Regions from separate parts of the Homo sapiens genome. Here all the other regions are linked to region 2. Evidence: promoter capture Hi-C in 16 types of primary human blood cells and fetal thymus (Javierre and others, 2016). All regions are on one chromosome and are shown on one strand. The core of a region is centred on a gene start or on the middle of the fragment in contact, and the rest is flanking DNA. Distances in the headings are between cores, read along the strand shown. Region 1 holds the start of ZNF606 (zinc finger protein 606). Region 2 holds the start of ZNF835 (zinc finger protein 835). Region 3 holds the start of ZNF135 (zinc finger protein 135). Region 4 holds the start of ZNF256 (zinc finger protein 256).

Region 1 (5,453 bases), core at 478-2,977, 1.3 Mb after region 2:
ATGACTATAAAACATAAAAGTTAGTGTCTTTTATGCCAACAATTTTCCTCCTTTACCACCAATCAGTTCTAATTTTGTACCAAGATAGACAGACCCCCTTCCATCCTCAAAAGTCCTCAGCCCATCACCAGCTCTGACCCATGACTGCAGCAGCTAATGATAGGGGAGGCCCAGGAGAAACACAACTTGGACTCACCCCAGGAGGCCCACGGGTTGATGGCTGCCATCCCGAGGACTGATTGACCAGGCACCTGCCCAGGAACACAGCAAATCCCAACCTAGTGACAAAAGTGAAAAAAGACAAAACTAGTCCTTTCTCACAGAAGACCAAGTGGGAACAAAGAAGGGAATCCATCCACCGAAGCAACAAAAAAACTTGTAAGGAGCATCGTAAGAAAAGAGAATTTACATGTCAAAAAAGTAACACAATTCCTGGAGAGAAATGAAAGGTAATTTGCATAAGCTGGAAAAAAGAGCATGATCCTGAATGAGAGGGTACAAATTTGTCAGCTATTCCCAAGAGACAGCCAGTCACAACACAGATGGAACTTTTGGATTAATCTGACAATTATTGTAAAATCAACTTGCAATCCTCATATATTAGTGGTTGCCTAGAGCTGGGGGAAAAATGAAATGGGGAGTGACTGCTTAAGGGGAACAAGGGTTTCTTTGTGGGGTGATGAAATGTTCTAAAATTAGATAATGGGGATGATTGCACAACTTTATTAATATACAATAAAACCGGTGAATTGCACACTTTTAAGTGCTTAAAGTGAACATTATGTTATGCAAATTTAATCCCACCTCCAAAAAAAATTCACCTCCAAGATTTACTAAGCCTAAGCTTGTGTGTGTGTGGAGGACTTAGAGATGGGCCTGGCGCCCAGACCCCTAACTCCTCAGGTTCCAGATCTTTGTACAAGTCAGCAACCTCTCGAATGGATTCCTGGGTATGTGTATAAAGCACTAGAACACACAGTGGGCCTCAGGAGCACCGGAATCAGCGCGAAAACGCAGAATGCAAACCGTACTTTGCACCATTATTTGCAACTTGACAGTGACCGCCGCCGTCACTGCATGTTTAAGGGAACCCGGAGCTGTTTCCAACCCAGGTCTGACGTCCTTCACAGTGCTTTGTGTGAACTGGCAGGGGGAGAAACGACGGCTGGGGAACGAACGGGGTTATTCGTCCCATCAATGGCCTCAGAAGCATCCTTATCACCTGCTTCCAGAGCTCCCGACCCAAATTTCCTCCTCAAGACCGACGCGGCCGCGACGCTGCAAAAGCTCGTCCCGGCCTCACCTGGCTCGCGGCCGGCGGTCCCCCTTGAAGGCGGCGCAGCAGGATCGGGGTCTGCCCGCCTGGGGCGTTTGGCTTTTGTCCCGCGCCGAGGTCCGGCCCAGGAGTGCGCTTGGGAGCTCCCGGCGCGGCCTCGGGGACAAAGGCCCGCGGAGCCGACGTGCAGCAGAGTTCACCCAGGCCCGTCCGACCAGAAAACGAAGAACGCCCGGAGGCGGGAGGCCGGAGGCAGGCTGCTGGCTGGAGAACCGACGGCAACGACGGCGCAAAGCCGGCGCGGAAAGGGCAGGCGCAGGACCCACCCTGACGCCGCCTCTCCCAGCCGGCTCTCCTGACCCCCCAAGCCCCGCAGCTACGGCGGCCCCACAGCCTGAGCAAAGGCCTCACCTCAGCCGCGGACAATGGCGGCTGCTTCCCCGGCGTCGACCGGAGCGCGCCGCGGGGTCTGCTGGGAGCTGTAGTTCCAGGCGGGCACTTCCGGCGTCGGGCAGCGGCGCCGCCATGACAGGTTCCTGGGCCGCGCCGCCTCGCCCTGCCTGGGCGGGGTTGGGACCTTTCTGGCACCTGCGTCGAAGCCGGCGGCAGGATGGACTTTGTTGTCCCGGTCCCAGACCACCCTCCTCCACCGTCGCCTCCCACTGCAAAAAGGCCTGGGTAAGTCGCGGCCCCGCGGGCCTCGGTTTGCCCATCCGCAAAATGGCGCCTCGTGGTACCGGGTTTCCCGGGAGGAGCTCGGCGAGTTCTCAGCGCTCTCGAGGGATCCTTCCATTTGGCGTTCGCAAGATTGTGAGAAAGTGACTGCTGTTATTCTCTTTAAGATAAGGAACCTAATTCGAGCTACCCTTCTCTGTGAAGCTCGACGGCTGAGAACGTCAGGGCTCGTTCCCAAGTCTCTTTCCAGAGGCCAGGCTTTATGGGAGCATGGGTTACCAGCGACGCACCCTGTGAGTTTTCCTCTATCGATATGCATGGAGCGGTTCGGGAGCGGTGGCTCATTCCTGTAGTCCCAGCACTTCGGGAAGCTGTGGCGGGAGGATCAGTTGAGTTCAGGAGTTCGACACCACCCTGGGCAACATAGCGAGACCACATCTCTACAAAAAAAATACAAAAATTAGCCCGGTGTGATGGCGCGCGCCTGTAGTCCCCGCTACTTAGGAGGTTGCGGTGGAAGGATTGCTTGAGCCTGGGAGGTCAAGGTTGCAGTGAGCTATGATCGCACCACTGCACTTCAGCCTGGGCAACAGAGCAAGACCCGGCATTAAAACAAACAAAAACGGGCCGGGCGCGGTGGCTCACAGCTGTAATCCCAGCACTTTGGGAGGCCAAGGCAGGTGGATCGCCTGAGGTCAGGAGTTCCGAGACCAGTCTGGGCAACATGATAAAACCTCGTCTCTACTAAAAATACCAAAAATTAGCCGGGCTTGGTGGAGGGCACCTGTACCCAGCTACTTGGGAGGCTGAGGCAGGAGAATCGCTTGAACCCGGGAAGCGGAGGCTACAGTAAGCCGAGATCAAGCCATTGCACTCCAGCCTGGGCAGCAGGGCAAGACTCTGTCTCAAAAAAAGGGACTGAGGGACTGTAGGTGGTGATACCAAAGAAAGCATGGCCATTTAGGAAGCTAGACTTGAGTGAGCAGTGGGCAAGAGAGATTTTGAAGATATTTCCACTAGTAATGGAGGATCATTTTAAAAAGCTGGCCTGTGGGTTGGGCTTTTGTTGTTGGGTGGTGTTGGCACTCACTGTGGGTGGGCAAAGGGGAGTAGCCCTTTCAGAGGGAGAGGAAAAGTTCAAGTAGGACAGGCTGAATTCAAGGGAGAGGAAAATTTCAAGTAGGACAGGCTGAATTCGAGGGAGAGGACCATGAGAGAGGTAAGGTGGAAGGGGCAAGGTGTTGGGACAGGCCCCAGCTGGCAGGAAGGTGAACCCAGTCAGAGTGGGCACTGAGAGGAAAGCAATCTATGGATGGTACAGCCACAATTTCCATCTCAGGATCAAGCAGAGAAAGAGAGGCTGGAGAAGGAAGAGTGACAGAAGTAAGAAGAGAGTGTCTCTCCACTTCCACTCCAGCCCCCTACAGCTCATCCTCCAGCAGGCAGCCAAGGGCACTTTTAGGATCTCACATCAGGTCCTTGCCTCACATTCTGCACTGGCTTCCCAAGTAATTAAAGTAAAATCCAAATTCCAGCTCACAGCTTAGAAAACTCAGCAGGACTGGCCTCTGTCCTATCCCACACCCCACCTCAGTCCCTCAAGCTCATCTCCTGTCATTCCTGCCCATTTCTGGACCCCAGCCACTCCTCAAACAGGGTAAGTCCATTCCTGCTTCAGGGCCTTTGTACGTATTGTTTCCTCTTCCTGGAATCTTCTTCCTTGTACAGCCCCAGGGTTTTCTTTTTTTCATCCAGATCACAGCACAGATGTCACATCCTGGTAACAGCCAGCTGTGACTCATCTCCCTAATTCTCAATTGTATTACTCTCTTTTTATTTTCTTCGTATCGTAACTGATAGTCTCATACAGTACAGAAGCCAAGTTTTAAGATATGCAATCACCAAATACCTGCTACACAAACCTCAATGTTCATATAAAATAAGACTAGAATTCATATTCTAAAGAGAGATGAGGTAGCTCTGTTCACTTTTGAGAGGGAACTCAAATGAGAGAGATACCTTTGACCTAAAGGTGTCAGGAAACCAGATGAAGAAAAACACCCCTGCTATGATTTGAATGTTTTTATCCTCTCCAAAATTCATGTTGAAACTTACTCCCCAGTGCAGTAGTGTTGGGAGGCAGGGTCTAATGGGATTTATGGAGGTCATAAGGCTCTGCTGTCATGAATGGATTAATGTTGTAAACCAAAAAATAAAATTCTAAGCCCCCCACCCCCCAACCATATGAATAGACCCCTCCTCTCAGCCAAGGGCATTCCAAAGTTAATTTGAAAAATGAGTTCGGGCCATGATGGGAAGCAGAAGCTGGACTTGCCTCATTATACCCTCCTCCCTTCTAGAATTAGTGATAGAACAGACTCTTTAAGTCTGATAAGAAACATTTACAGTCTGTTATCTCCGGAGGTTTCATCTGCTTGGTAAAACCTTGAGTTCCACAACCCCAGACATTCCTTTCTATTGACAATAACTCTTTAAATCAATTGGCAATCAGAAATCTTTAAATCTGCCTATAACCTGGAAACTTTCTGTACCAGTATACATCTTATATGTATTGATTGATGTCTCATGTCTCCCTAAGATGTATAAAAGCAAGCTGAACCCTAACCACCCTGGGCATGTCCTCAGGATCTCCTGAGAGCTGCGTCAGGGGCCACTGGTCACCATATTTGGCTCAGAGTAAATCTCTTCAAATATTTTACAGAGTTTGACTCTTCGTCAACAATGCCATTGTAAAAGGTTCATGGAGAGATTCTGCATGTGCTTGCATTCTCTTTCTCTCTCTCTCTTTCTTTCTCTCCCCCCACCCCCACCCTCCACCACCCTGCCCTTTACCTTCTGTCAGGTGAGGATGCAGTGTCCAAGGCACCATCTTGAACTCATCATCGCCAAATATGTGAGCACCTTGATGTTGGACTTCCCAACCTCCAGACCGTAAGGCAGTACATTTCTTTGTAAATTACGCAGTCTCAGCTATTCTGTTACAGCAGCACAAATGGACTAAGACAACCCCCGAGATAGGAAGGGGTAAGGTAAATGCAATGAGAGTTGGGGTTTTCGATCTTAGTCCAGTAAAGGAGCTGGAACTGTTCTGTATAAACAAAGGGCAAGGTAATTGCTACATAGATTCTTTTCTTATTATTGCTGATTCTTATCCTAAAATAAAGGACATTGCCACTACACATCCTCTAGAATGACCAAAAATAAAAATACAGCATCAAATGGGACGACATGGTGCCAACTGGAATTCTCATACCCTGCTGATGGGAGTATAATGTGGTACAGTCACTTTGGAAAAAAGTTTGACAATTTCTTATAAAATTATACATAAACCTGTACTATGACCTAGAGATTCTACTCCTGTTTGTTCAAAAGAAAGGCAAACATCTGTCCACTAAAAGATATGTACAAGAATGCTCACAGTGGCATTATTTATGACGGTCCAAACCAGGAGATAATCCAAATGTCTGTAACCAAGAGAATG
Region 2 (5,328 bases), core at 1,625-4,124:
CAGGGGTACCCACCTCGTGTGTAGGGGGAGGGCAGGTGGGTTCACAGCGGGGTTGGGTAAACCTGGGTGTTGTGCACACACAAAGGAGCCCAAGGGGAGACACAGGCTTGCTTGGGGGCAGTAGAAGAAAGCTGTCTACTCCCAGCACTTCTGACACGTGGGCTTTCTCCACACCAACAACCAAGTCTCCAATCTGCTCTGACTGGGAGGCACAGGCAGCTACCAACCATAAAACTGCCTCAACCCCTCCTTGGGTTTGGTGATTTGCTCACATAGCTCATTGAACTCAGGGACATGCTTTATTTACGGTTACTGGTTTCCAATAAAGGATACAACTCAGGAACAGCCAGATGGAAGACACACAGGGTAAGGTATAAGGAGGAGCTCAGAGCACCATGCCCTCTCTGGGTGCTCGACAGCCCCAGAGCTCGGCAAACCCTAAGTTTAGGGTGGTTATGGGGGTTCCATGACACGGGCGTGACTGACATAGGTGTGATGACACTGGCCATCGGTGATGAACTCAACTTCCAGCCCTCTCCCCTCCCAGGAGGTAGGGGCTGGCTGAAGGCTGGAATGCTCATCAGGGCTAGCTCCCGTGGCAACCAGCCCATCCTAGGGGCCTATCAGGAGTCCTCCATTAGCATAAATGTACTTGGGGGTCTACCAGGAGTCCTCCATTAGCATAAATGTACTTGGGGGCCTATCAGGAGTCCTCCATTAGCATAAATGTACTTGGGGGCCTACCAGGAGTCCTCCATTAGCATAAATGTACTTGGGGGCCTATCAGGAGTCCTCCATTAGCATAAATGTACTTGGGGGCCTATCAGGAGTCCTCCATTAGCATAAATGTACTTGGGGGTCTACCAGGAGTCCTCCATTAGCATAAATGTACTTGGGGGCCTATCAGGAGTCCTCCATTAGCATAAATGTACTTGGGGGCCTATCAGGAGTCCTCCATTAGCATAAATGTACTTGGGGGCCTACCAGGAGTCCTCCATTAGCATAAATGTACTTGGGGGCCTATCAGGAGTCCTCCATTAGCATAAATGTACTTGGGGGCCTATCAGGAGTCCTCCATTAGCATAAATGTACTTGGGGGCCTATCAGGAGTCCTCCATTAGCATAAATGTACTTGGGGGCCTACCAGGAGTCCTCCATTAGCATAAATGTACTTGGGGGCCTATCAGGAGTCCTCCATTAGCATAAATGTACTTGGGGGCCTATCAGGAGTCCTCCATTAGCATAAATGTACTTGGGGGCCTATCAGGAGTCCTCCATTAGCATAAACACAGGTGTGGTTGCAGGGGGCTTATTAAGAGTTGCAGAAGACACTCCTTCTACCCCTGTCACTCAGGAAATTCCAAGGGTTTTAGGGGCTCTGGTACCAGGAGCTGGGGATAAAGATTAAACATATATTTCTTATTATATCACAAGATCACAGGAAGACACATGCATTACATCACACTCTGACACACACAGGGTCATACACAATCATACCTGCCCAGACACACACAGACATGCAGAGACACCCAAACCCATATCCAGGGACACACAGTCGCCCTCCTAACCCCCATGCAAGGAGGCAGGTGGGAAGCCATCACCTGCAGCCACACTCACACATGCACACAGGGTCCCGGGCACACGTAGCTACACACACACCCAGCCCCACACGTAGCTCCCTGTGTGAAGAGGTGCACAGAGACGCACAAGGTCACACATGCCACCTGCTCCACACAGGCCGGCCATTACTGGGACACACCCACAGGGGATGGCTGGACACATGTGCAGTCACACTCGGTGGATAGAGCTCCAGCATAGCCAAAGCCCACATGTGCAGCGTCTCCATCATGTGCAGATGCACACACTTCAGACAGCACGGCACTCTACAGGCTCGCACAGCCAGGTCACCCATCATTGTGCTGGCAGGCACACGGGCCGAGCCAGCCTACACGGCGGCACACCCAGACATGCACACGTGGGGTCACACACCTCACATCCAGGAGAACTTTCAGACTTGCCCAAAGGCAGCCACACGTGTATGTGACATGCTGTGATATGCAGACACCGCTTCACATGAACGAGCACATAACACACCGATAAAGTGTTACATGCCTTTACCTGCAGTCACCTGCCTGGGCTGGCACCACTGAGTGAGCAGGTGCAGACACAGTGACACTCGGGGACGGGCTCACAGGCAGTCACACACCTGCAAGGCCTGGCACCGCCGAGTGAGCAGGTACAGACACAGTGATGGGCTGGCACCGCCAAGTGAGCAGGGGCAGACGCTGTGACACTCAGGGACGGGCTCACAGGCAGTCACACACCTGCACCTGCTGGTACCGTCGAGTGAGCAGGTGCAGACGCTGTGACACTCAGGGACAGGCTCACAGCCAGTCACACACCTGCACGGCCTGGCACCGCCAAGTGAGCAGGTACAGACACAGTGACGGGCTGGCACCGCCGAGTAAGCAGGTGCAGATGCAGTGACAGGCTCACAGGCAGTCACACACCTGCACCTGCTGGTACCGTCGAGTGACCAGGTGCAGACGCTGTGTTACTCAGGGACGGGCTCACAGGCAGTCACACACCTATACGGGCTGACACCGCTAAGTGAACAGGTGCAGACACAATGGCACTCGGGGACGGGCTCACACGCGGTCACACACCTGCAGGAACACGCGCACACTACACACCGTTGCTCTCGCCTCCCGGTATCACCTTCGAACGCGCTGGCCGGCCCCCTCCTAGCCTGGTGCAGTCGGCTCCGCTTCTACTCAGTCTCGGGTCCTCCTGGGCCAACGCAGACCCTGGTGCCTCCTTCCTTAGACGAGCTAAGGTCAAGACTTCTGCTGCTGCGGAGGAGCCCGCGCACCAGGCCGGGGTGGACTGCGCCTGCGCATCGGGCCCGCCTGGTTCTTAGGAACTACGACTCCCAGGGGGCGCTGCGCGCTCGCCGGCACCGCGACTAAAGCTTGCAAAGCCTGGGTCATCGAAACTACAACTCCCAGAAGGCTAAGCGTCTGCACACGCTAGGTCCGCAGGGCGCTGACCCCTGGGGGCCCGAGGAGCGCCGGGCTGCTGCCCCGAGCCCCGCCCACTACAGCCTCAGTGCATGGCGGTGGGCGCTTCCAGTAACTCAGGGGTGGGACTTTTTTCTTGCTCAGGGGATGAGGCCGAGCCCACAGGCTTAGAAAGAAGGAACTTGAGTCCGGGCACCTGTCATCCCAGCGCTTAGGGAGGCCGAGGCGGGTGGATCACCTGAGGTCAGGAGTTCGAGACCAGCCTGGCCAATATGGCGAAACCCCCGTCTCTACTAAAAATACAAAAATTAGCCGAGCATGGTGGCATGCACTTCCAGCTACTTGGAAGGCTGAGGCGGGAGAATGGCTTGAACCTGGGAGGCGAGGGTTGCAGTGAGCTGAGATCGCACCACTGCACTCCAGCCTGGGTGACAGAGCGAGACTTCGTCTCAAAAAAAAAGAAGAAGAAAGAAGGAAGCTGAGGTTCAGACAGGCTAAGTCCCTACTGCAGGCTGCGGAATCTAAAAAGGTAGGTGCCAGGGTTTGCAACCCACACTTTTATTTTGGTCTCAGGTAGCTGATGTCATTCCAGTCTATGGCAAAGAAGGTGGCAAATCCATTAACATAGATGAAGAATTTCATTTTACTTTTTAGTTTTATTTATTTATTTATTTTTATTATGTATCATGCTTTTAATACAAACTTTAAAAAATCTGGAACAATAGAAACTGTACAGATTTGATCAATCTTTTTGTTTTGTTTTTAAACTAAAATCTCTAAACACACCAATGTCCTATTCCAAAATATTGCACAACATTCTGAATACAAAACCCTTGATTGTATTCCTCCTTCACTGAAGAAAAAACTTCATGACCCTGCTCCCCGGGCTCCTCTCCAGGCTTGCGTCAATGCCCCCTTCCCATCCCTAGGGAGAAAACTAGAGAATCTATAACTCACTGCATTGAGAAAAAGACATCATTCTGGACTAACAGTTTCCATTCTTCAGAAGATAATCCACCTTTTGATTTGTTCCTGGGAAACAGGGATAGATAGAGGATGGGGAAAGGGGAGAAAAGGTTTTATTTCTCCTCTTTTTTTTTTAAAGTTTGTTTTTCCTGAAAAAATATGTTTCTCTCATCTTTTTAAGAAAAAATCTTGAAAAGAAAAAAATTGTTTTTACGTTAGAAATATACATATATTATATATACCTCTTACATTTTACAAATGTAGCAAATTATTCAATACAAACGGACACCAAAAAATGTAAAAAATAAAAAAAAGTTTTCCTAAGAACCAGGTAAATTAGTGCAGATTTCTGTTTTTGTTTTCTTAAAAAAAATAAAATTGAAGCAAAAGTGCCTAGATTTGAGACAAGACAGACTGAACTGGGCCCAAGAGCCCAGCACTGGAGTCATGCTCCTGAACACACATTTTTCTTCGTATTTCAAAAGACACAAAGGGGTTGGTCTCCCCCCCTCTCCCTACATGTGAGAAACAAGCAGACCTGGTGTGGGTGGGTGCCTGTGTGTGTGGATGGGAGGAGGGATAGAAGGGGATGTAAGGCAGCATCCAACCTTTCCCAGAGAGAAGCTATCTGCTGGGCCTGTCACCTGTGTGGGAGCCGAGGATGAGGGAAAGGGTGGCCCAGACTGGGCTGGCCCCTGAGAAGTCTAGGGGAACAGATGGTGCTGGGCTGAGAAGCCAGGACATTGCCTGCCGGGGGAGGTAGAGCTGGTGCCTACTGCAGGGAGAGGAGGCTGGCAGTGCCGGCCTGGGCTGGACCCACTGCCATAGCAGTTGCCTACTTGGGGTCCCTGGGTAGGATGGAGTGGGTGGGGTGCCAGGGGCTTTGGTGCTTTCTGGTGATGGGACCCTGATGCCAAGTGCCCACTTTGCAAAGATGAAAAAGTTCATGACCCTGCTCCCTTGGCTCCTGTCCATGCTTGCCTGGCCTCCTGGGGTTGGAGGAACAAGCTCTCTCCTGGCAGAGGCAGGAGAGAGTTTTATTTTTTAGAAACAGTTTCGCTTTGTTGCACAGGCTGGAGTGCAGTGGTACAATCACGGCTCACTGCATCCTCGACCTCCCCAACTCTAGTGATCCTCCCATCTTAGCCTCCTGAGTAGCTGAGATTGCAGGCATGTGCCACCACACTGGCTAACTTTTTTTTAACTTTTATTTTTTGTAGAGATGAGGTGTCGCTATGTTGCCCTGGCTAGTCTTGAACTCCAATCCTTCCACCTCGGCCTTAAATAATTTTAATAGTTGACATGCACATGGCATTTACTATTGGCCGGCATTATTTTAAGG
Region 3 (5,153 bases), core at 1,834-4,333, 1.4 Mb after region 2:
AATGCAGACACTGAAAAGACAAAGCCCAGCAGGGTAGCTCTATAGTGTCCTTTGTGGCCCTGCTGCCTCCACAGCCCCCAGCACTGGGATGGTGGAGGCTGGTGTCCTTAACTCACTGTGTCTCCACCTGACTCCACACTGCCTCTCACCCTGGCCTCCTCCTGTGCCTAGAACAGTCTCCACTGCCATACTTGACCACACCCAGCATACAACAGGTCCTACAGAGTGAAGGGATGAGTGACTCAATGAGTGAGGGGAAGTCCCTGTGGAGACACCGGGACACCATTGTGGGCTGCAGTTTCCAGCCGGGGAAGCCTCCCTCGACCTCTGAGGGGAGGTGGGCCACCCCTTGAGGGCCACTCTCAATGCGCTCCACCTTGGCTGACGGAAGCAAGGACGTGGCCCAGGATCCTGGAGGGCCACTCCTGTGTGCGCCACCTTGGCTGACAGAAGCAAGGACGTGGCCCAGGGTCCTGGAGGGCCACTCTTGTGTGCTCCACCTTGGCTGACGGAAGCAAGGACGTGGCCCAGGATCCTGGAGGGCCACTCTTGTGTGCTCCACCTTGGCTGACAGAAGCAAGGACGTGGCCCAGGGTCCTGGAGGGCCACTCTCACGTGCTACACCTTGGCTGACAGAAGCAAGGACTTGGCCCAGGGTGCTGGACCAGTTGTGGCAGCTGCTGCAACTCACGAAAGCCACCACGTGGTGTTCTTCACCTAACTTGCCCAGTCCCAAGCCCCTGCCCGAGCTGCAGTGAGACAGAGCACTAGCCCCTCTCTTCTCTTTGGGTTCACCCCAGCTGTGGAAGCCCCAGCACCTCAGCACGCCTCCCTTGCCCTGTGCCTTCCTCTGCCAGCACCCCCCAAAGACTCCAACACCCCCATCACGATGTGCCCCAGTCTCCTGTCCTCCAGCCCTTGTCACAGGAGCTGTGAGCCCAGCCCTGGGCACTTCACGCTCTGGAAGACCGGAGTCTCAGACGCCACCTTTCTCCCTGGCAGCCAGGGTCTCTTGGGTCAGAGGAGGCCTGGACACTGCCAGGTTTTGAAGCTGTCAAAAAGATTTTTTTTTTAAAGGGAGAAATATGTCCAGGGAGCTGTAACTGTTACAGTATATTTTAAATGTATGTGTTGAACAGATTAACTTTTTGAACATTAACATACAGCATGACACAGTTCTGCTATCCATGCTGTGATTGCAGGATTGCTTGGAAGCTGTACTGATGTGCAGCCCACCTGCTCATGGTGGGGGGTCCTGTTCCAGGCCACAGAGAGGCAACCAGCAATGCTCTGCTTGGAGATTCGTACAGGAAGCCAAGAAGGAGCTGAGAGGGGCCCAGCCAGTGGTTACAAGAGACAGCAGGAGGTTCAGACCACAGCAAGGGTGGCACTGGAGTAGCCTCCAGCTCATCTTATTTGACTGGTAGAGTGTTATTAAAGCCTTTGAAATCCCTACCAGCTTTTAAAAATCAAGAGATTTCACATAGAAATCCTGATCTCTGGGTTCTTTAGAGAAATCCAGACCTGGGACGCTGGGCTTGCCAGTCCGCACGACCCCACTTGGCTGGAGCCAAGCAGCACTTGCCCCTGTAGAAAGAGCCCGCCCCTGCAAAAGCATGTACGGTTTAGAAACCTGGCTGAGAAAAACAGAGGATCAGAAGGTCTGAGGGAGGAAACAGAGGGGCAAGTTTGAGGGAGCTGGGCAGGGCCGCCTGGCCACCATCAGGGCTGAGCAGGCTCAGTGTGGCACCACTGACAGCTTCTCACCAGGACTATCAGACCGCTTGGGAAAAAGACTTCACCATGAGTTGTGTGTTCATACCTTTTGATCCAGTAAAAGGAAACGGTTGGGGGTGGGGGTGGGGGGCAAGAGTATACATTTTGTGAAAGAAAAAATACACAAAAAGATGTTTTGTGGCATTTGGGTTTGTGAGTTCGAGAACTGAAAAACGGCATTTTATGTATAATGGAAAGCCTCTTTACTGCTGTAGAGTGAAAAGCAGGCTGGCTTTCAGTGCGACGGTCACAAATGTGGGGCTTTACAGTACTTGGAATGTACAGGACGCCCTTAAAAGCCAAGAAGCTTGCCTTTGCTTTGTTTACATCAGTGCATTATGATTTTGAGCCATTATATCTCTTCATAATTGCCACTGTTTTAGGGCTTATGAAATTTAAAGTCTTAACTTGTGTGTTAACCAGCCAAATCTTTGCAAGTGTCTGTGTGTGGTACGAGAATTCGTATTGTGTTCTCTGCTGTTTTCAGAGTTGTTTCAGTCAAAGAAAAAAAAATGCCCGTCTTAAAACTTTTCCTCTGCTTCAAATACAGCTCCCAAGCCCAGGCTGATTGGAATTAATCTGTCCTCCCTTAAAAGGGCAAAAGCACAAGGCTCAGCCCTGGCTTTCCCAGCTCCTCTGGTCTCGCTGCTCCACGGACGTGTGACGTACGCTGGTGAAACGAAGCCCGCTTGAATGGGGGCTTCACTATTGTGTGCTGCTGAACCTAGGCCTAGCGCCTGGCAGGCTTTGGTGAATGTTCAGAAAATGACAATTCATTTCGTGTCAGCGAGGGCACACCAGCTTTGAATATTTTGCTGCTGTTCAAATGCACAATTTTGACAATTACCTAGCAATGTCCAAAGTCGTCATAATTGTTAGTGTCTTGCACGTGATGTTCCTTATAACCATGTAATAAATACAGTGTGAAGTCTCCATGGCTGCCTCAGTGTGGAAAATGCAAAGACTCCCGTGTGTGCGATCTTGGTGAATGTTTTGGTTGAAAGTATGTGTTTTGAAAAAATCATTGCTTTGTTTGCAGCAGTAAAACTGACGGTAGAGTTTCCAACACGAAAGCCCGTGTGGTCGCGCCGGGAGCTCACGGCGTTCCAAGCGGCACTTATCCCGCGTTGATGCCCAGGCACCCCGCGCGCCCTGTTTCACCAGGCCCAGTCACTCCAGCTCCAGCAGCACTGAGAGCTCACGAACGCCAAGGGCGAGAGCGAGGTGGGGGAGGGCGGCCGGAAATGCGCGCGCGGCTCTCTGGGAAATGGAGTTAGGCTCGCGCCGGCGCAGTGTCGGCTGCCGGTGCCGCGGCCTTTGTCTCGCAGTCAGGAGGGTGAGCTAGGCCGGCGAGGAGGGGGAGGGGAGGCCAGGCCGGGCCGGGCCGGGCCGGGTGCGGGGGGTCCGGGGATCTTCCTGAGGCCCTGGCGGGGCGAGTTTCCAGCAGCGCGCGTCTGTGTGGAGTCCGTTTTGCTGCCCGGGGCCTGGGGAAGGCCGTTTCGGGGCTGGCGGGGGCAGGCTTTGCGGGGCATCCCTAGTCTGAGAGGAGGGCGGGGCCCAACGCCCAGCTGGACAGGAGCTGCTCCGACGGCCCCTGAGGGAACGCGCGCCCCGCCCCTGGCCCCACCTCTGCCCCACACCGGGCACTGGGCCGCCACCTTTGTTGATGGAAGAGAGAAACTGAGGCATAGTGCCCAGGGCCAGGGGACCGCAACCACCCGGCCCTTGTCACTGTAGCGTTAAGGCTCAGAGTCTGCGCAGCAGATATGTGTCCGCACCCGCCAGGCCTTCAGCTTCCCTCAGACAGGCGGGAAAACCCTAGGCTGCCCTTCTCCGAGCGGAGGGCCGCCCCACACACAGCAGGCGCTTAAACGGGTACGCGGGGCCCTGGACGGCTCTCCGCGGAGCTCCCCAGGCTCTGGCGCAGTTCCCCGGCTTGGGGACCTGAGCACCGCCTCTGCCTGCCCCAGCTGCTCACCTCCCCTTTCCCACAGAGCAGGGCCAGCCGTTCCTGCCAGAAGCCAGGGCATGACCCCTGGGGTGCGCGTCTCCACAGACCCGGTGAGAATCTCGGCCTCCTTGCGCGTGTCCTCCACCTCGTGCCCGGCCTCCTCGCGCGCGGCCTTCTCACGCCCGGCCTCCTCTTTGCACCCCGTCCCTACTCGCGCTCAGCCTCCTCCTTGTGCCCGGCCCCTACTTGCGTGCCCGGCCCCTACTCGTGCCCGGCCTCTACTCGCACAACTGGCCTCTACTCGCGCACCTGGCCTCTACTGGTGCCCGGCCTCTACTCGTGCCCGGCCTCTATTTGCACATCTAGCCTCTACTCGTGTCCGGCCTCTACCTGCACACCCGGCCTCCTAAAGTCCGCGCCAAGCTCCCCAACCACAGCCTGCCTCTGAAAGGACCGCCCACGCCGCGCTGGAGGTCAGCGGGCACGGGTCCCTGTCTGAGTGGGCTTTATGTTTGTGCGGCCGTCATTGCATACCTGAGGCTGGGTGATGTCAGAAAATTGTAGGTGCCCCGGCTCTGCAGTCTGAAGTTGAAGGCCTTAGCATGCTCTGCGCTCCAAGATGGCGCATCGAGTGCCGCTTCCTCAGACGTCATGGAGGCCAAGGGGGCGGAACTCGCCTTTTTATGATGACATTAACCCCACCCATAAGCCACCAGAAGAAACCAGCCTCCTGTAGGAATGTCAGAAAACCCGTACAAGGGGACTGGTGCGATGGCTTGTAGCTGTAATCCCAGCTATGGGGGAGGATTGCTTGAGCCCAGGAGTTGGAGGCTGCAGTGAGCCATGATGTGCCACTGCACTCCAGCCTGAATGACAGTGGAACCCTGTCTCTAAAAAATTAAAAAACAAACCCAGATTTGGCCGGGCGCGGTGGCTCGCACCTGTAATCCCAGCACTTTGGGAGGCCGAGGTGGGCGGATCACGAGGTCAGGAGATCGAGACCATCCTGGCGAACACGGTGAAACCCCGTCTCTACTAAAAATACAAAAAAAAATTAGCCGGGGGGGTGGCGGGCGCCTGTAGTCCCAGCTACTCGAGAGGCTGAGGCAGGAGAATGGCGTGAACCCAGGAGGCGGAGCTTGCAGTGAGCCAAGATCATGCCACTGCACTCTAGCCTGGGCGACAAAGCGAGACTCCGTCTCGGGGGAAAAAAAAAACCACCCAGATTCAGTCTTTAGACTTCTGCTACTAGCTTTATAACTTTGTTTATCCCCTAGGCTGAAGTGCAGTGATGCAATCATGGCTCACTGTGCTTCAAACTTACGTGCTCAAGTGATCCTCCCACCTCAGCCTGTTAAGCAGCTGGGACCACGGGCATGCGACACCATGCTGGGCTGGTCCACTCCTTTATTGCTGGCTCCCTCCA
Region 4 (5,742 bases), core at 2,296-4,795, 1.3 Mb after region 2:
CTCTCCAAGCTCCCCAGCTCAGAGGAGAAAGCAGTCAGCTGGTGCTGTTGTCTCCTAATGGGGCTCTTGGTCACTGGTTGCAGCCATCAGTAACAAGAGGCAGGTGAACAAATACATGTATCTAAGCTGTGGGCGTGGCATAAGGGCAACCACTCCTTCCTGACAAGCATTCCTCTCATATGACCAAGGTCATGTAAGTCTCAATCAGGACACTGGGGCCATCAGGCACACTCCCTCTCCAAGTGCATATCATTCATTACACTGCACATACCTCAGGTCTCCAGATCCCACTGCCACATGACCATGACCACCACTACGTCCTATACCACAGGCAAATCCTGGCTTCCCCACATGCTACCTGAGTGAAAGAGTAGATAACCTGGGCCGGGTGCAGTGGCTCATGCCTGTAATCCCAGCACTTTGGGAGGCCGAGGTGGGCGGATCACGAGGTCAAGAGATGGAGACCATCCTGGCTAACAGGGTGAAACCCCATCTCTACTAAAAATACAAAAGATCAGCCAGGCGTGGTGGCACACGGCTGTAGTACCAGCTACTCAGGAGGCTGAGGCAGGAGAATCACTAGAACCCAGGAGGTGGAGAGGTGGAGGTTGCAATGAGCCGAGATCACGCCACTGCACTCCAGCGTGGTGACACAGCGAGACTGCGTCTCAAAGAACAAAAAAAAAGAGTGGATAACCAACAGCCAAATATAAGACACGTGACATTGGACAAATGAGATCAACAGTTTATTAATTTTTTTTTTTTTTTTGAGACGAAATCTTGCTCTGTCGCCCAGGCTGGAGTGCAGTGGGGCAAGCTCCACCTCCTGGGTTCATGCCATTCTCCTACCTTAGCCTCCCAAGTAGCTGGGACTACAGGCACCCGCCATCACGCCTGGCTAATTTTTTATATTTTTAGTAGAGAAGGGGTTTCACCGTGTTAGCCAGGATGGTCTTGATCTCCTGACCTTGTGAGCTGCCCGCCTCGGCCTCCCAAAGTGCTGGGATTACAGGCGTGAGCCACCACGCCTGGCTGAACAGCTTATTAATTAAAGACAAATACTCATAGCCTGTGAAAGAATACCACACTCCACACAGGGCCATACGGAGGTAGTACTCCAGAAAAGAGTAACAACCAGGTGCTGTAGAATGTAAGTTTTGTAGCATCAAGATGGAGAAGCTCCACTGGTCCCCAGAGGAGGGGACTGGCTTGTTTGAATAACTCAAAAAATTGATAGGGAACTGAAACCCACTACAAAGTAATAAGCAGGAACTGTTCTGGTTCCCTGGATAAGAATGGATAAGAAGGGTTCATTTGGCTAAGAGAGCTTATTCATGGGAGCAAAGTGGGAAGGGGAATTTGTTCTCAGGCCATCTAAGGCTGTATCGTTTTCATCAGATGTCAAGGCGACATATCATACTGGGCCTTAATTTCCGGCCTTATACCGCAACTTGGCAGGCAGCATCCAGAGTGTGGATATAAACAGGATCCAAAATCCCAGACTTCCCACAGCTTACACTAGTGGAAGCAGCCTCAAAAATTTCTTTGAAGGCCTCCCTGCCAGGCTGTATTCCTTGCCTCAGACATAGCCACACAGAACCACAGGTGAATCACAGATAACCATGGCCCTATTCCACTTCTGTGCTGCACTTACCATCCCCTTGAGAGTCATATATCCACCTAAAGCTCATTTAAATCCCAGCCTCACTGGTCGTTCATCTCACACACAATGACTCTCACAAATGACCACATGACACTAACTTAATCTTCCAGCCTGAATGAAACACCCAGGCCCCATCAAGTTATCACAAAATCCTGGATACCCATAAAGTGGTGAATAAGCACGAGTTTTGGCCTGAGTGTCCTATGCGTTTGCATCCATCTCATGTCCATTCTTCTCTTGGGAGCCGTGGCCACTGCCAAACTACACTGTCTTTTACATACCTTGCCTTCATGACCACTTACTCTATCATCATCCTCCCAGTCTTGGCCCACTAACAGCTTTACAACCAAAACCTGGAGCTTGCCCCGCCTAACTGTGACCCACAGCTCACTAACCTTGGTGCGCACAACAGCCACATCTTGAATATCTGCACCCTGAACCACTCCCTAGATTTCAAGACCGGCACGTTCATCTGCCCACTTAACGCCTCCATTTAGTAGGCTCTGAAAGATCTGACTCTTAGCATGGCATAAACAAACCTGATATCCCTAGTGAATATTACTCCTATTGCCAATTTGTTCATCTTAGTTGATGAAACTTCTTTCCCTACAGCTGCTAATACCAAAAACCCTGGAGTCTTCTCTGAACCCTCTGTTTCACTCCCTCACCACCTACATTATGTAATTTAGTTGTCCCTTTTGAAACCACACATCCGGAATCTAACCACATCTCCTAAATCACGATCCTGGGCCAGTAACCCTCACTTGGACTAGTCTACCCTGATTTTCCTTCCTCCTCCCTCAACCCCCCAGTTTGTGCCCCACTGTGCACACAGATGAAGCCTGTGAAGACCTTGGTAAATTACCTCTTTTTTCTGATTCAAACTTGCTATTACCTCCTGAAAACACACTCAACTTCTCAGGCAGCCACTGCAGTCCTGACGCCTATCCTCCTGTTCTTTGCTTCCCACCAGAAAGCAAGGAGACTTGTGGCTTCATAAATGCACCCAGCTCCGTACTGCACCTAAGCATTTGCACATCTTGTACCTTTCTGGAAAAACTTTCCACACCCGTTCACATGGCTGCCAGAAATTGGAACAACTCTATATACCGGCTAACATGGACATAGGACCCTGGGCTTGGGGTTCACCCAAGGTCTTCAGAACTAAGGGCTGGGGGAATGGCACTCCACAACCCAGAGAACCTGTGGGTGGGAGTTAGGGCTAGTGAGAGACTGGGAAACCCTCCCCTTCCTGGCGTAGATTTCATAACCCTTTACAGCCAAGGGAAACGTAGAAAGAGCCAGGCCTCAGAGAAGAGCATCTATGGCGGTATTAGATGGGCTCAAGCCACCCCGTAGCCCCATGCCTGGCCTTGGAGCCGGGTGCCCTCGCAATGGCTGTGTCACCTCTGTGCCCCAGGGCTCAGTGGCGCCTCTCATCAGGGGCTCCTTGCCAGTCGCGCCCTCCCTTCCCTAGCACACCAGGTGTTGGAAACGGGAGCCCCTCCGGCGAGCCCCCGTGTCCTGTCCTGGGCAGCAGGGCCGCGAGCAAGCGCCCTCGGGGGTGCTAGGACTAGCGTGGGGAGGGCGGGGAAGGCCCAGAGGACGCGGCACATACCTGGGCCGGGGCCGTCAGCTCGGCCGCCGCCATCTGACTCTGTGAGCGGAGCGGGGCCAGAGAGGATGTCCTTATTCCGGGCCGGGCCTGGGTACCCTGGGCGCCGCCGAGCCTCAGCCACGCCTCTGTGCAGCGGGGAAGACTCCTCTCGCGCCTTCTCAGTCAGTCACGGATGATGCTGACCCAGCGCTCCGGGGCTTTCTACCAAGTAATCAGTCCAGACAAATGCCAAAACGACCGCCACAAGGAGGACAACGGAAGTCCCGCCGCGACCGCGCGTGCGCTTACGGAAACACCACCTTTCGGAGGCCTCATTGGCTGAAGGTCGCCGTCGCCCAACGCAGGCCATTCTGGGTAATGTTCCCACAGGCGCACGGCGGGAGAGTGAGGGTCGCCTCCACCTCCTTCCGGAAGTAAAGGCCAAACCCCTGTAGGGGGCGCTGGGAAATGGACACTCCAGGTTGGGGCGGAGGCGAGGCTTCGTTCTTTCTTAAAGGAGACGTACCCAGGTTTCTACCGATTGCTGTCTGCCAGTGTTTGTTTGGAGACGTGTCATTTCATGTGTTCCCAGAGGCACATATCCAGATGCACATATTATTACATACAGTCAGTCAGTCACAAAATATATCCACTGGTTGAGAAAGCAAATAAATATGACTATGTTGCGGCCGGGCGCGGTGGCTCACGCCTGTAATTCCAGCACTTTGGGAGGTCGAGGCGGGCGGATCACGAGGTCAGGAGATCGAGACCATCCTGGCTAACTCAGCGAAACCCCGTCTCTAAAATACAAAAAATACCACAAAAAAAAAAAAAAAAAGAAAAATTAGCTGGGTGTGGTGGCGGGCGCCTGTAGTCCCCAGCTACTCCGGAGGCTGAGGCAGGAAAATAGCTTGAACCCGGGAGGCAGAGCTTGCAGTGAGCCGAGATCGCGCCACTGCACTCCAGCCTGGGGGAAAGAGCGAGCCACTGTCTCAAAAAAAAAAAAAAAAAAAAAAAAAAAAAAAGACTATGTTGCAATTCAAACGCATGCACTCAAGCACTGGAGTCAGTTTTCTCAGTCTCTGTATGTTTGATTAGGGACAAGAAAAAAAACACTCCACACAGGTTCATGACAAAGAGGATGAAGGTGGGATGCGGAGGCACCCTGCAGCAGCAGGACATAAGTAGATCCCTGTCTCTGGGTCCCTCTCGTGCCTGTGTAGTCAAACATTGTGTCCAATTCACTAAGCAACACTTGCATGAATCTAATCTCACTTTCTCCATGCCTTTATATTCACTTCTTTTTAATAATTTGACATCAAGCTCAGAAAGAGAACAACAAAAGGAATGGTATTTTGAAAAGGCATGATGGCTAGCTAGAGCATTAACAGGTGGAACAAAGGGTGCTCTGAATCCCAAATGTAGGGTGTATCTTAAATTCAAGATCTCTTCTCAACGCTGAAATGATTATCTTTGCCCCCATTAGTTACGCTCTTGTTGCCCAGGCTGGAGTGCAATGGTGCGATCTCGGCTCACCACAACCTCTGTCTCCCGGGTTCAAGCGATTCTCCTGCCTCAGCTTCCCAAGTAGCTGGAATTACAGGCGCCCGCCACCGTACCCGGCTAATCTTTTTTTTTTTTTTTTTTTTTTGTATTTGTATTTTTAGTAGAGACGGAGTTTCGCCATATTGGCCAGGCTGGTCTCGAACTCCTGACCTCAGGTGATCCACCCACCTCGGCCTCCCAAAGTGCTGGGATTACAGGCGTGAGCCACTGTGCCCGGCCCTTTGCCCCCATTATTATAGGGCTGTTCTGCATAAAAAATTGATACGATATCAGAAAAAGAATTGTAAAATACAAATTACAGAAAGCTACTAATAATGGGTGTCGCTTCGCCAGCCAGAAACCTCTGTGGTCGCGCCTCTGCTTGAGTTTTGCTCACACCCGCTGGGCTTGTTCCACCCACTCGGCCCAGCAGGCTGCACCTGGATCCCACACCTACCAAGGGCGAGCCAGGCGCGGAGCCGCAAGGGGTGTGTGAGCGAGCAAGTGAAGGGTCCAGCCAGTGCACACAGCCAGGCACGCTGGCTGCTGCGGCGGGGCGGGCAGCTCCAGGCGCTGGCACAGGCGCCGGCTCCTTGCAAGTCTGCGACTGGACCAGACATACTGCAGGCGGCTTCTGCTGCAGGCACCAGCATCTAGACGAGGGAAAAATGGTGGCGCCGGAAAGCTCGGAGACACCAAGAACAGCAGAACCCCAAAGAGGGTGTTGCAGCATGTCACAGCCCTGGCTCCGGAGTCTCGAGGCCTGGGCTCCCGGAAGAGCCACAGCTCTTCTCTCCTTCCCGTTGCTTGCAGCCTGGCAAGCGGGGAGGTGTGTTTTGGGTGGGGTGTGTTTTCAGCTTGTTTGTGATATAGCTCTTTCAGTCCCGCTGCCCTGCTCTGGCTCGCTGCTGCTTCCCATCGTGGGGGGCGGCCACCC

What was found. Contacts are between HindIII fragments. The CHiCAGO score rates a contact against its expected background, and 5 or more counts as called.
Region 1: a contact is called between the fragment with the promoter of ZNF606 here and the fragment with the promoter of ZNF835 in region 2, in 4 of 17 cell types (non-activated CD4 T cells, erythroblasts, total B cells and 1 more). The highest score is 8.6, in non-activated CD4 T cells.
Region 3: the fragment with the promoter of ZNF135 here is called in contact with the fragment with the promoter of ZNF835 in region 2 in 4 of 17 cell types (non-activated CD4 T cells, erythroblasts, activated CD4 T cells and 1 more); the score reaches 10.3 in non-activated CD4 T cells.
Region 4: a contact is called between the fragment with the promoter of ZNF256 here and the fragment with the promoter of ZNF835 in region 2, in 4 of 17 cell types (neutrophils, activated CD4 T cells, total B cells and 1 more). The highest score is 8.7, in neutrophils.

Annotation. Positions count from the first base shown.
Region 1 is chr19:58,001,093-58,006,545 of GRCh38, forward strand. It overlaps ZNF606 (zinc finger protein 606), which reads right to left and starts at 1,728. Exons shown (of 7, transcript NM_001348022.3): 1 at 1,304-1,728; 2 at 197-278. The coding sequence starts at 227. It overlaps ZNF606-AS1 (ZNF606 antisense RNA 1), which reads left to right and starts at 1,802. Exons shown (of 4, transcript NR_036508.1): 1 at 1,802-1,954; 2 at 2,119-2,244; 3 at 3,291-3,608; 4 at 4,815-5,453. RefSeq lists an enhancer at 1,660-2,079. The HindIII fragment of the contact is 14,498 bases long and covers 843-5,453 here.
Region 2 is chr19:56,668,883-56,674,210 of GRCh38, forward strand. It overlaps ZNF835 (zinc finger protein 835), which reads right to left and starts at 2,875. Exons shown (of 2, transcript NM_001005850.3): 1 at 2,694-2,875. It overlaps LOC105372473 (a long non-coding RNA gene), which reads left to right and starts at 3,097. Exons shown (of 4, transcript XR_936110.4): 1 at 3,097-3,549. The HindIII fragment of the contact is 4,177 bases long and covers 1-2,969 here.
Region 3 is chr19:58,056,199-58,061,351 of GRCh38, forward strand. It overlaps ZNF135 (zinc finger protein 135), which reads left to right and starts at 3,084. Exons shown (of 5, transcript NM_001289401.2): 1 at 3,084-3,112; 2 at 3,771-3,837. The coding sequence starts at 3,805. It also overlaps a transcript of ZSCAN1 not described here. The HindIII fragment of the contact is 3,956 bases long and covers 2,082-5,153 here.
Region 4 is chr19:57,944,161-57,949,902 of GRCh38, forward strand. ZNF256 (zinc finger protein 256) reads right to left here and starts at 3,546. Exons shown (of 3, transcript NM_005773.3): 1 at 3,282-3,546. The coding sequence starts at 3,314. RefSeq lists enhancers at 2,955-3,034, 3,525-3,624, 3,695-3,784. The HindIII fragment of the contact is 12,388 bases long and covers 1-5,742 here.